Linked DNA regions of Homo sapiens: all the other regions are linked to region 4. The links are contacts of gene promoters, found by promoter capture Hi-C in human tissues and cell types (Jung and others, 2019). All regions are on one chromosome and are shown on one strand. Each heading gives the region's core, a stretch centred on a gene start or on the middle of the fragment in contact. The rest is flanking DNA. Distances are from core to core; before and after follow the strand shown.

Region 1 (2,920 bases), core at 363-2,862, 260 kb after region 4:
TGGCAGCCAGGGGAGCTCCTCCAGGTTTCCAGGTTGCTGGTCTCGTGACTCTGCAGATGACTCGAGAGGCACAGGTGTGCCTGCATCTGGGGACACGTGAGCCTGCTGCCCGTCCCTGGATTACTGACCTGCGTCATTTGGGGGTGCAGGGGAGCTGCACCGAGGCCGTCAGTGTGCCTGCTGGGGCGCCCACCTCCAGAGACGATCTCTGTCCTCCCGTGTGTGTGAAGAGCCCGTCCCTCCAGCCCGCAGGCCTTGCCTTGCAGGGGCTTCGGGGACTTTTTTTTTTTTTCCCAGGGGCAAATCCCACGTGGGCGGAACCTCTCCGCAGCAGGTATTACTCTTGCGTTTCGGTCTTTCTGCTCCTCAGACATCCCCGCTCTTTTCCTCCACCCACGCTTCGCCACCTGTGAATCGTTCTGACTTTTAGGTGTGAAACCGACGTGCCACGCTCTGTGTCATGAGTGGCAGGGCGGCGACCTCAGCCTAACCTTTATTTATTTTTTTTTTCCTCCACCTTCCCACTGACTTGGCTTAACCTTTTTTTTTTTTTTTTTCTCAAATACCATCTGATCTTCTGATCTCCCTCAAAGAGCTGCGTCTCAGGTCGCAGGTGAACTTTCTGGATGGTGTGGTCTGCGTGCGTGTGTGCGTCTGGCTGCCTGCCAGGAGGGAACCGCTGTTGCTGCCCTGTGTCGCTGTCGCCTGAACGTATTGCTGTCCTGGGGGGACTGCTCCCTAGAAAGCCTCCGTGCCGTGTCGTTGGTGAGCGCCGGTCTGTGCTGACACTGCAGGCTACTTCCCAGTGCCCACGATGACAGCTCTGCCTCTGAAGTGAGAAGCGGAGACGCCACTGGGAGGGGCGGGGGGCGGAGGGCACGGGGTTCAAGTGCCAGGCTGAGCCTACATGGGAGGTACTTGCAGACTGGCCCCAAGTGGGTTTTATGTGTTGTTAAAATACATAACAATGTAGTTTAGCTTGCCCCATCCTAATATGTATTTCTTTTTCTTTTTTCTTTTCTTTCTTTCTTTTTTTTTTTTTTTTTACCATTTTAGTCTTTCTTTTTTTTTTTCTTTTTGAGATGGAGTTTCACTCTTGTCGCCCAGGCTGGAGTGCAATGGTGCGATCTCGGCTCACTGCAACCTCTGCCTCCCAGGTTCAAGCAATTCTCCTGCCTCAGCCTCCCAAGTAGCTGGGATAACAGGCGCCTGCCATCATGCTCGGCTAATTTTTTGAATTTTTAGTAGAAACTAAAAATGTTAGGGTTTCTCCATGTTGGCCAGGCTGGTCTTGAACTCCCGACCTCAGATGATCTGCCTGCCTCGACCTCCCAAAGTGCTGGGATTACAGGTGTGAGCCACCACACCTGGCCTTCTTTTTTTTTTTTGACACAGGGTCTTGCTCTGTCGCCCAGGCTGGAGTGCAGTGGTGCGATCACAGCTCACTGCAGCCTCAACCTCCTGGGCTCAAGTGATCCTCCCACCTCAGCCTCTTGAGTAGCTGGGACTACAGACACACACCACCATGCCCAGCTAATTTTTAAATTTTTCGTGGAGACAGGGTCTCGCTGTGTTGCCCAGGCTGGTCTCAAAATCCTGGGCTCAAATGATCCCCCCGCCTCGGCCTCCTGAGGTGCTGGGATTACAGGCATGAGCCACGGTGCCCGGCCCTTGTTTACTGTTCAAAAGTTTGCAACTCCATGGCATTATTTCCATGAACACTGCGTGCAAACACCAGCACTATCTATCTAGTTCCAGAAACTTGTCATCACCGAGAATGGGAACCTTCTCAGTTTAGTTTTGGAATGTTCCAAAGAGACTGCACCATCCGAGCATGTTATTGGTCTTCCTTGCCTTGGCTGCCTTCTCTCATCCTGACTTTTTATTTTTGAGACAGGGTCTAACTTTTTTTTTAAATTAATTAATTAATTAATTAATTAATTATTTTTTTTTGAGACAGAGTTTCACTCTTGTTGCCCAGGCTGGAGTGCAGTGGCACAATCTTGGCTCACCGCAACCTCCACCTCCCGGGTTCAAGCGATTCTGCTGCCTCAGCCTCCTGAATAGCTGGGATTACAGGCGTGCACCACCACACCCAGCTAATTTTTGTATTTTTAGTAGAGATGGGGTTTCTCCATGTTGGTCAGGCTGGTCTCGAACTCCTGACCTCAGGTGATCTGCCCACCTCAGTTTCCCAAAGTGCTGGGATTACAGGCATGAGCCACTGCACCTGGCCAGAAACAGAGTCTAACTTTGTCACGCAGGTTGGAGTGCAGTGGTGCAATCTCGGCTCACTGTAGCCTCCAACTCCTGGGCTCAAGTGATCCTCCCACCTCAGCCCCCCAAGGACTACAGGTGCACACCACCACGCCCAGCTAATTTTTGTATTTTTTGTAGAGATGGGATCTCACTATGTTGCCCAGGCTGGTCTCAAACTCCTGGGCTCAAGCAATCCACCCACCTCGGCCTCCCACAGTGCTGGGATTACGGGCGTGAGCCACCCAGCCTCTTCCTGACTCTTAAAAGCGGCTTGCTTGCTTGGAAGCTTGCCCGACTGCGGGGCATGGAGGCATTTCCTGTGAGCATCTATGTTTGCCCTGAAAAGAGACTTTGTATGTCGTGTGAGTAATGCCCCCAAAGATATTGGCTCCTAAATGTCTGGAACCTGTGAATTTTCCCTTATAGGACAAAGAGGTCGCAGAAGTGATCACATGAAGGATCTTCAGACGGCAGATTATCCTGGGTTCTCCAGGTGGACCCTAAACAATTACAAATGTCCTTATAAGAGTGAGATTTTGGCAGGCTGCGGTGGCTCACACCTGTCATCCCAGCACTTTGGGAGGCCAAGGCGGGCAGATCACGAGGTCAGGAGATCGAGACCATGCTGGCCAACATGGTGAAACCCCGTCTCTACTAAAAA
Region 2 (3,202 bases), core at 520-3,019, 360 kb before region 4:
TGAAAAGAGATGGGGAATGGGGAGGGGTTTCTTTCCTCCCTCAAGATAACCAGCTGGAGGGTCTAGCTGAAGTGACAGGCCTGGGCCCCATCTCACCAGACCCTCCCTAGGGCCTTCTTGAACCCCTTCATTCATTCATTCATTCATTCATTCATTCATTCAATTCATTCATTCAATAAACATGCATTCATGCTTACCGGGCACGCAGCGCTGGGGAAAAAGTGGGTGTAAAATAGGTCATGGGCCCCGGTCCTTCCCCAAGGCCTCTCCAGGGTCTTCCTGGAGGATGGGAGGGGGAGGGCCGGGGGTGTCCAGCACAAGGCCTTTGAAGTGGCACCCCCAGTCCCCAACACCTGACCGGAAGGCTGTCAAAGCCACCCCAATTCAGACGCTGGGCCCATGATGGGAACCAAGGGCTGGGGATACAATTGCCGGACACCCCCACCCGGGATGCCATCGGAGGGAGAATCCAGTGGGAGGGAGGCAGACAGGCCTGAGGCCGCCCACGCCTCCCTCCTCCTCCCTGTCCACCCCAGAATTTGGGCTCTGCCCAGATGGACACGTCCAAGCTCATTGTCTTGGGCCTGAGACCCCAACACATTGCTAAGAGGCTCGGCCAGTTTCAACTTGAGCCCAAGGTGGAGGCGGGGGAGGGGGAGGGCAGAGAAATGGAGGAGAGAATGCTGATCCACGCGGAGGTGGTGGGGCCAGGGGGTGGGCAGCGACGGGAGCCTCTCCGCCACCCGAGGCAGGCGAGGCGGGCGCGTCCCCCCGAGCCGGGCGCCCCCAACCCGTCTTCCTTTGTAGTTACCGATTAGCCTGGGGTCCTGGGCATCCGTGTCCCCCGCGGCCGGACCTGCCCCGCCGGCCTGGCTTTGTGAAAATAACCAAAGCAATGGAGTCCGCAGGTGCAAACTTCCCCGACGGGGCCTGGGGAGGCTGAATGAATGGGGGTGGGGGGGCAGGGAGGGGTGCCGGCGTTCCCGAGGCTCCCCTGGCAAACGGGCAGGAAAGAGTGGGGTGAGGGAGGGAGGAAGGGGTGGGGGTCTGGGGGATGGAAGGGTGAGGGAGGGAGGGAGGGAGAGAGAGGGTGCTGTGGGGGGAAGGATGAGAGGTCGAGGGAGATGGGAGAGAAGAGAAAGGGAGAGAGAGAGGGAGAGAGAGAGGGAGAGAGAGAGGAGATGCCGGAAGGTGGGGAGGGAGGGAGAGGGGGCGGAGGAGGGGAGGGGGCCCGCTCGGATCTGTCAGCTGCACCCCCAGAGAGGGGAGGAGGGGTGGGTGGGAGGGAGGGGGTAAGAACCGATGCTCCGGCAGAGGCAGGCAGAGGAGGGAGGTGAGCAGAGGAGGGATGGTGATGGGGGAGAGAAGATGCCGGAAGGTGGGGTGGGAGGCGGAGGGAGGGGGAGAGGGGGGAGGGGGCCGGGCGCCCACCTTTGTGCATCCCCGTGTAGGGGTCTTTGAGCACCGTGAGCTCGTAGATGCGGCCGAACTGCTCGAAGAGCGGCTTGAGGTCCTTCTCGTCCAGGTGCCGCGGGATCTGGCCCACGAAGAGTTTGATGGCGTCCAGGTCCTTCATGCCGTCGGGCTGCCCCCCGGGGGGCTCGGGCCCGCTGCTGCCCACGGGCGAGGGCCGCGGCTGCAGGAGCTGCTGCTGCTGCCGGCGCGCCTCGCTCTCCGTCAGGCGGGCCATGGCGGGCGCGGGACCGAGCCGGCGGCGGCGGCGGCGGGCGGCGGGCGGACTCGCAGCTGGAGCGGCGGCCGCGCCTCCCGCCTCCCTCCCGGGCCCCCGCGCCCTCCTCCCGCCCGCGCCCGCCCCGGCATCGGGACCACAAAGGCGGCTCCGCAGCGGCCCCTGGCGGCCGCGCCGCGCGGGGCAGCCGGCGCCTCCCCGCATCCCCGGGCCGCGGGGGGAAACTGAGGCCGGAAGGCCCCGGGCCCCGCCTACGGGTGGGCGAGGGCGGAGCTGCGGGCGGGACGGGCCTTAGCCGGCTTCCCAGGGGTCCCCGCCGGCTCCCGCGGAGGGCATCGGCCGGAAGAATGTCAAAAGTTGCTGGGATAATGTAGGGGGCTTGTCGTTGAAAGCGCCCGTGATCCTTAAAGTAGGTAACTCATCAATAATATTAATAACACTAATAATATGGCTGGGCGCGGTGGCTCACGCCTGTCATCTCAGCACTTTGGGAGGCCGAGGTGGGTGGATCACTTGAGGTCAGGAGTTCGAGACCAGACTGGCTAACACGGTGAAACCCCGTCTCTACTAAAGAATACAAAAATTAGCTGGGCTCGGTGGCGGGGGGTGCCTGTAATCCCAGCTACTCGGGAGGCTGAGGCAGGATAATCACTTGAACCCAGGAGGCGGAGGTTGCAGTGAGCCAAGATTGTGCCATTGTACTCCAGCCTGGGCAACAAGAGCAAAACTCCGTCTTGGTAAAAAAAAAAAAAAAAAACACCTAATAATAACAACACTAATAATAATTAATCAAGAGCAAGACAAAGTGCTCCCACTAATCACGACAGCACAGGAGAAATGGTAAAAGTATCTTCCAGTTCTATAGGGTGCTTACACATAGAAAGTGTCCTTGGCCCTTTAAGTATGTAACTCATCAATAATGTCATCAACAAGGAGGGAGACTGGCTCGCACTGATAATGACAGGATAGGAGAAATACTGAAGTATCTCCCAGCTCTAAAGTGCCCGTGATCCTTTACGTATGAAACTCATCAATAATATTAATAAAAATAATAATACGTGCTGGCCGTGGTGGCTCACACCTGTAATCCCAGCACTTTGAGAAGCAGAGTCAGGAGGACCACTTGAGCCCAGGAGTTGGAGACCAGCCTGAGCAACATAGTGAGACGCCATTGCTGTAAAAAATAAGAAAACAGGCCAGGCACGATGGCTCACACCTGTAATCCCAGCACTTTGGGAGGCTGAGGCAGGTGGATCACCTGAGATCAGGAGTTCGAGACCAGCCTGATCAACATGGAGAAAACTCTGTCTCTACTAAAAACACAAAAATTAGCCAGGCATGGTTGTGCATGCCTGTAATCCCAGCTACTCAGGAGGCTGAGGCAGGAAAATCGCTTGAACCCGGGAGGCGGAGATTGCAGTGAGCCGAGATTGCGCCATTGCACTCCAGCCTGGGCAACAAGAGTGAAACTCTGTTTGAGAAAAAAAAAAAAAAAAATCAGCCAGGAGTGGT
Region 3 (2,969 bases), core at 296-2,795, 270 kb before region 4:
TCTCCCGACCTTGTGATCCACCCACCTCGGCCTCCCAAAGTGCTGGGATTACAGGCATGAGCCACCATGCCTGGCAAATTTTTGGTATTTTAGTAGAGACGGGGCTTCACCATGTTGGCCTGGCTGTGTCTTGAACTCCTGACCTCAAGTGATCCCACCCGCCTGGGCCTCCCAAAGTGCTGAAATCACAGGCTTGAGCCACTGCACCCAGCCAGAGTTCAGAATCTTGAACCGTTACTGACGTCGACTCCCCCATCTGAAGCCTCCGCATGGAAGCCATCACCCTGTTTTGTTTTCTCCTAGATAATTCTTGTTGCCAGAATTATTTTATCTGCTTATGAGTTTACAGACTAAATGTCTTGGCTCCTTCACAGGAAATGAGATCCAGGAAGACAGAAATATCTTCCCCTGTTTGGCTGCCTCGTTCCTGGGAGCTACCCAATAAATCTTAAATGAATGAATAATGAATGAATGAACCAATGAACCAATCAATCCATCCTTTCTAGCCCCCAAAGGAGCCCTAGACAAGCCCTCTCCAGCCATGGCAGGGAGGTAAAGGCGAGAGGGAGCGTCCTGGTGAAGGAGAGGCTGGAGCCGGCCCCTCCCTTACGGGTGGGCTGGCCAGAACGGGTTGCACACCTGAGCTCATCATTCCCTCGCCATGACACAGACAGGTAGGGCGTGCTGGGCCTGCCCGGCAGGGGCCCGGTAGAGCCACGTCTGCTATTGTATATGCCCCACACAGTGGACAGGCCTGGGCACCTGGCCGCTGGTCGCACGTTGGACAAGGAACTTGGCTTCTCTGAACCTCAGTCTTTCTCATCTGGAAAATGGGTTCCAGGCTCCCCATTCCCTGGGAGGAGGCGACGGCTCCACGATGCCAATGTCTGACCTAGCCTGATCCGCCTCCTTGCCCCGACACCCCTGCCGGCTGGCCACCGCCCACTGCCCACCACCCACCGCCCACCGACCCTGGACTCACCCAAAAGCAGCAGCTTCAGCTCCCCGCGGTCCTGCTTCTTCTGCTCCAAGAGGATCCTGTTGATCTCCTGGTCCACCCGGGCGGCGGCCTTCTCATCCTCCGTCAGGCACCAGGGGCAGCAGCGCCAGGTCAGCGAGCGGGCCATGGTGCGGTGGCCTCAGTCGGCACCGGGTGGCATCGCCCCCGGGCCCCTGCTGGCCAGGGCAACCCCCAGCCCAGCCGGCCCTGGAGAGGGCTCCGGGCAACCGGGTGCGCAGGGAGGCTGCCTTTTCCTTGGGGGTCACCCCCCAGGGACCTAGACTTCCTTGCCTGAAACACCCAGGAAGCCCGGCTCGGCGGTGGCAAGGCTTGAGTGCTGGGAACAGGGTGGGGACGGGAGGAGGTGGGGAGGCCAGGGCTCCCCGCCCACCTCCAGACCTGCTCAGACCCGGCCCGACAGGTTGACGGTGAAGGGTGCCAGGAGAGGGTGAGGTGGGGGCCCCAGGGAGGGCGGGGCGGTGGCGGGAAAACCCCCACCGCAGACTGGGTCCTGTGTGACCAGCAGGGCCCTTCTTCCTCCTTCTGGAGAAGGGGCGGATTCTCCTCAGGCTTCACCCGGAGCTGTCCCCCTCCTCGGAGCCAATCAGGAACCGTCAGACCCGTGCTACTGCTGATACATTATATATATATCATATATATATGTGTGTGTATATATATATATGTGTATATATATATATATATATATATATATATATATATATATATATATATATTTTTTTTTTTTTTTTTGAGACAGAGTTTCACTCTTATTGCCCAGGCTGGAGTGCAGTGGCAGGATCTTGACTCTGCAACATCTGCCTCCCAGGTTCAAGCAATTCTCCTGCCTCAGCCTCTCGAGTAGCTGGGATTACAGGCATCCACCACCACGCCGGGCTAACTTTGGATTTTTAGTAGAGAAAGGGTTCCACCACGTTGGCCAGGCTGGTCTCAAACTCCTGACCTCAGGTGATCCACCCGCCTCGGCCTCCCAAAGTGCTGGGATTGCAGGCATAAACCACCACGCTCGGCCCTTCTGATATATTTTTAAGAAACAGCTCAGGCCAGGTGTCATGGACTGTTTCCAGCGACTCTGCCCTGACCTCAGGTGATCCACCCTGCAGAGGTGGGCAGCTTGCCTGAGGTCAGGAGTTCGAAACCAGCCTGGCCAACATGGCGAAACCCTGTCTCTACTAAAGATACAAAAATTAGCCGGGTTTTGGCTCACATTAGCTGGTTTTACACTCACATCACCCTGTATAGTTACTACTGTCATCCCTGTTTGACTGATGAGGAGGTTGAGGCATAGAGCAGGGGAGTGACCGGTGGGGCTGGCACAAGGCAGAGCCGGGAGCCTATCCCTCACCTGCGGGGCCCCAGAGTCTAGACGCCTACCAGGCAGATTCCAGGCAGGGCCATCCCTTCATTGTGCGTGCATTCATGGAGCGCCAACTGTGTGCCAGGCACGGTAGCCAAGAGACACAGATCCCAGACCTCCTTACCTAAGGTTCTAGTTAAAGAACAGATAATAAAATAAATTTTAGGCTGGGCCTGGTGGCTCACGCATGTAATCCCTATACTTTGGGAGGCCAAGGCGGGCAGATCACAAAGTCAAGAAATCGAGACCAGCCTGGCCAACACGGCGAAACCCCGTCTCTACTAAAAATACAAAAATTAGCCGGGCGTGGTGGTGCACGCCTGTAGTCCCACCTACTTGGGAGGCTGAGGCAAGAGAATCGCTTGAACCCGGGAGGCAGAGGTGGCAGTGAGCTGAGATCGTGCCACTGCACTCCAGCCTGGCGACGAAGTGAGACTCCATCTCAAAAAAAATAAAAAATAAAAGAATAAAAAATTTGGCCAGGTGAGTGCGGGAGCTCACATCTGTAATCAAAGTACTTTGGGAGGCCGAGGCAGGAGGATCACTTGAAGTCAGGAGTTTGAGACCAGCCTGGCCAACATGGAGAAACTCCAT
Region 4 (2,965 bases), core at 96-2,595:
TCTGGGAGGCCAAGGCGGGTGGATCACCTGAGGTCAGGAGTTGGAGACCAGCTTGGCCAACATGGTAAAACCCTGTCTCCACTAAAAATACAAAAATTAGCTGGACGTGGTGGCACACACCTGTAGTCCCAGCTGCTGGGGAGGCTGAGGCAGGAGAATCAATCGCTTGAACTCAGGAGGCGGAGGTTGCAGTGAGCCGAGATCGCGCCACTGCACTCCAGCCTGGGTGACAGAGCAAGACTCCGTTTCAAAAAATAAAAACAAAAAATAAAAGAACAGAATTATCATCTATCACAAATTCTCCATCCTGGAAAAGGAGAATAACTGATATTTTAGCGAGTTTTTGTAATTCACCAAATTATATACCAAACATTTTTTTCTTGTAGGAATGTATTCATTTCGGGGCGTGTCATAATAAAAGAGAGATTTTCTCTCTTTCTCTGCGATTCTTTTTCCCGGGAGCCCCGTCAAGGGCTAAGCCCTGGAATCCCATTTGTCATCACCGAAAATAAAACAACAGATGTGAGAAACTTAACCACACGGGCAAAAAAGGAACAGAAAATAAAAAGAAAAAAAAAAGGCACGCTAGAATTTTTAACAAATGGAATGTAAGACGAGAACTTTATTTTTTTCTGAAATTCACCTCCTTGGAAATATTTTATCTTTCAAACTCTATTATTTACTGTATGTTCCATTGACTGAAAAAATCTGAGGCTCAAGTAACCAAATCAATCTTTAGAAGGAGAGAGGCCCAGGCAGGGGCGGCTGGGCTGGAGTCCGGCCTGCGGGCCTTTGGGGTCAGGCCAGCCCGTGCCGCCACGTGGAGCGCCCGCACCACCTGTCCACCCCTCGCCCCTCCCAGGGACGTGGGCCTGGGCCCAAAGTCTGCATCCAAAGCGCATTCTGCTTTGGGGCTGTTGCACCGCCTCGCTGGGGTGAGGTTTTTTTTTTTTTTGTTTTGTTTTTTGTACTTTGGGTTAGTTTTTCTTCCAATTAACTTCGCGAGACCCCACAGGGCAGGAGTCATTTCTGCCTTTTTTTCCCCTCCATCCCAGCGTCCTGACAACTACGACTTTCCAGGGAATGAAGACTGGGGCAGGGGAGGAAACTCCCCGCAGGACCCGGGGGTGACACAGGGACAGAGGCTGCATGGGGGTTCCGGGCGGCTCCCCCGGGAGTTTCAGCGTGTTCTGGCCGCTTCCAACCCTCCCCTCCCAGGGCTCCGGCTCCGGCTCGGCTCCTGCCCTGCACTCACCATGTCCTGTCCGTTCCTGAGCTCTTTGAGGAGCTCCCTGCTCCTCGCAGCCGGTGCAGGTGAGCACGACGGGGACACCTGTGGTCACTCAGGGCAGGCCGGGTGTGCTCTGCAGGGAGGACAGCAACGCCCCGCCCCTGGGGCTGTGATTGGATGGTTCTCTTCTCTGCTCATCTCTGATTGGAGAGTTCACCAGTCACATCCCAACTCCCCTGATTGGACAGTTCTTTAGACTCTGCCCCTCCTCTTCTGGTTGGTCAGCTTGCTATCCCCTGAGCTCCCCTGATTGGGCAGTTCTTCAGGCCCCACCCCAGCTTTCCTAATTGGTCATGTTTCCACGCCCTGCCTCAGCTCCTTTGATTTGACAGGTCTCCAGGCTCTGCCCCAACCCCCCTGATTGACAGTTCTCATCCGGATGCTCCACCTCAACTCCCCTGATTGGTCAGTTCTCTAGGCCCCACCCCAGCTGCCTGATTGGTCAGTTTTCAGGTCTCGGGTCCTGCAGGCAGCAGCCCCCATCCACGGTGGTCTCCTTCCTGAAATGAAAGTGGTACTGACTTAGAGGGAAACCTGGGCCCTTGGGGTATCCACCGTAGAAAAAAGCAGCTTCTTCTGTCCTCAGTCTGTTGTCAGATTCCATGACACTGGAGGAGGTCCCCTCTCTCTCCTGACCAGTAGACACCTGGGGAGGCCCATGGGGTCAAGTGAGTGACCAACGAAAGCTTTACCATTCCCTAACTAGGGTCAGCACAATTGCTAGAACTGAACTCTTGAGCCATTAGCAATGGTCTAGCCAGCCGGGCGCGGTGGCTCATGCCTGTAATCACAGCACTTTGGGAGGCCAAGGTGGGTGGATCACCTGAGGTCAGGAGTTTGAGACCAGTGTGGCCAACATGATGAAACCCTGTCTTTACTAAAAATACAAAAAATTAGCCGGGTGTGGTGGTGGGTGCCTGTAATCCCAGCTACTCGGAGGCTAAGGGGGAAGAATCGCTTGAACCTGGAAGGCGGAGGTTGCAGTGAGCTGAGATTGCCCCACTGCACTCAGCCTAGGCAACAAGAGGGAAACTCCGTCTCAAAAACAACAACAACAACAAAAACATAGAAAACAAAACAAAACAAAAAAACCGAAAACACACTTAAAAAAAACTGTGGCAACAACTGTATCCTAGGTCAATATTTTGAGGTTAAAGCACTCTGGGGATATTTTGCCTCACAGTTTCTCAAGTAAAAATCAAGGTCACGAATATCTGTGTACCTATGAAAACTCAAACACCACAGCTGAGCGCTCAATGTGCAGGCAGATGAATAGTCTACAGGCAAATGACATATAATCAAGGAGGCATAATCCCTGGAAGCCTGTTGGTAGGGCTGAGAGCAAATAGATTTTATAGGGTCCCCGCCCACCTTTGCAGAGGCTATTCCGTATACTGTGATCACGGAAGCCACTTAAATGCAAATATTCCTTACCAATCCCACCAGACGTTCTCCTGCTGAGCCACAATACAGGGTTTCACCAAGACCCGCCCTTCCCTTGGGGTTACAGATGCTACTGACAGTGATCAAGGTGCTCAGTTCTTTTCTCAAACGACACTGTAGCGAGATTGATAAGGAATCAGAGAGACCGATGGGGTTCAGGAGGATATTTATTATTTAGCTGCACCAGCCCAGTCCGATTAACACCCAAAGGACTGAGCCCTGAACAAAGAG

Evidence for each region. Contacts are between HindIII fragments. The study calls those that stand out against the background at their distance.
Region 1: a fragment that was not itself captured here is called in contact with the fragment with the promoter of ZNF556 in region 4 in 1 of the 25 tissues and cell types used here (small bowel).
Region 2: a contact is called between the fragment with the promoter of CELF5 here and the fragment with the promoter of ZNF556 in region 4, in 8 of the 25 tissues and cell types used here (IMR-90 fibroblasts, adrenal gland, aorta and 5 more).
Region 3: the fragment with the promoter of GNA15 here is called in contact with the fragment with the promoter of ZNF556 in region 4 in 6 of the 25 tissues and cell types used here (dorsolateral prefrontal cortex, lymphoblastoid cells, mesenchymal stem cells and 3 more).

The regions. Positions count from the first base shown.
Region 1 is chr19:2,605,689-2,608,608 of GRCh38, reverse strand. The region is part of intron 2 of GNG7 (G protein subunit gamma 7); the gene reads left to right. Among named protein-coding and RNA genes, the nearest start is that of MIR7850, 24 kb to the left of the region's middle. RefSeq lists enhancers at 1-437, 1-567, 438-1,292. The HindIII fragment of the contact is 9,077 bases long and covers 1-2,920 here.
Region 2 is chr19:3,223,228-3,226,429 of GRCh38, reverse strand. It overlaps CELF5 (CUGBP Elav-like family member 5), which reads right to left and starts at 1,769. Exons shown (of 13, transcript NM_021938.4): 1 at 1,432-1,769. The coding sequence starts at 1,690. RefSeq lists a silencer at 1,829-1,948. The HindIII fragment of the contact is 19,492 bases long and covers 1-3,202 here.
Region 3 is chr19:3,134,609-3,137,577 of GRCh38, reverse strand. GNA15 (G protein subunit alpha 15) reads right to left here and starts at 1,545. Exons shown (of 7, transcript NM_002068.4): 1 at 983-1,545. The coding sequence starts at 1,127. The HindIII fragment of the contact is 27,733 bases long and covers 1-2,969 here.
Region 4 is chr19:2,865,715-2,868,679 of GRCh38, reverse strand. It overlaps ZNF556 (zinc finger protein 556), which reads right to left and starts at 1,345. Exons shown (of 4, transcript NM_024967.3): 1 at 1,256-1,345. The coding sequence starts at 1,258. The HindIII fragment of the contact is 10,595 bases long and covers 1-2,965 here.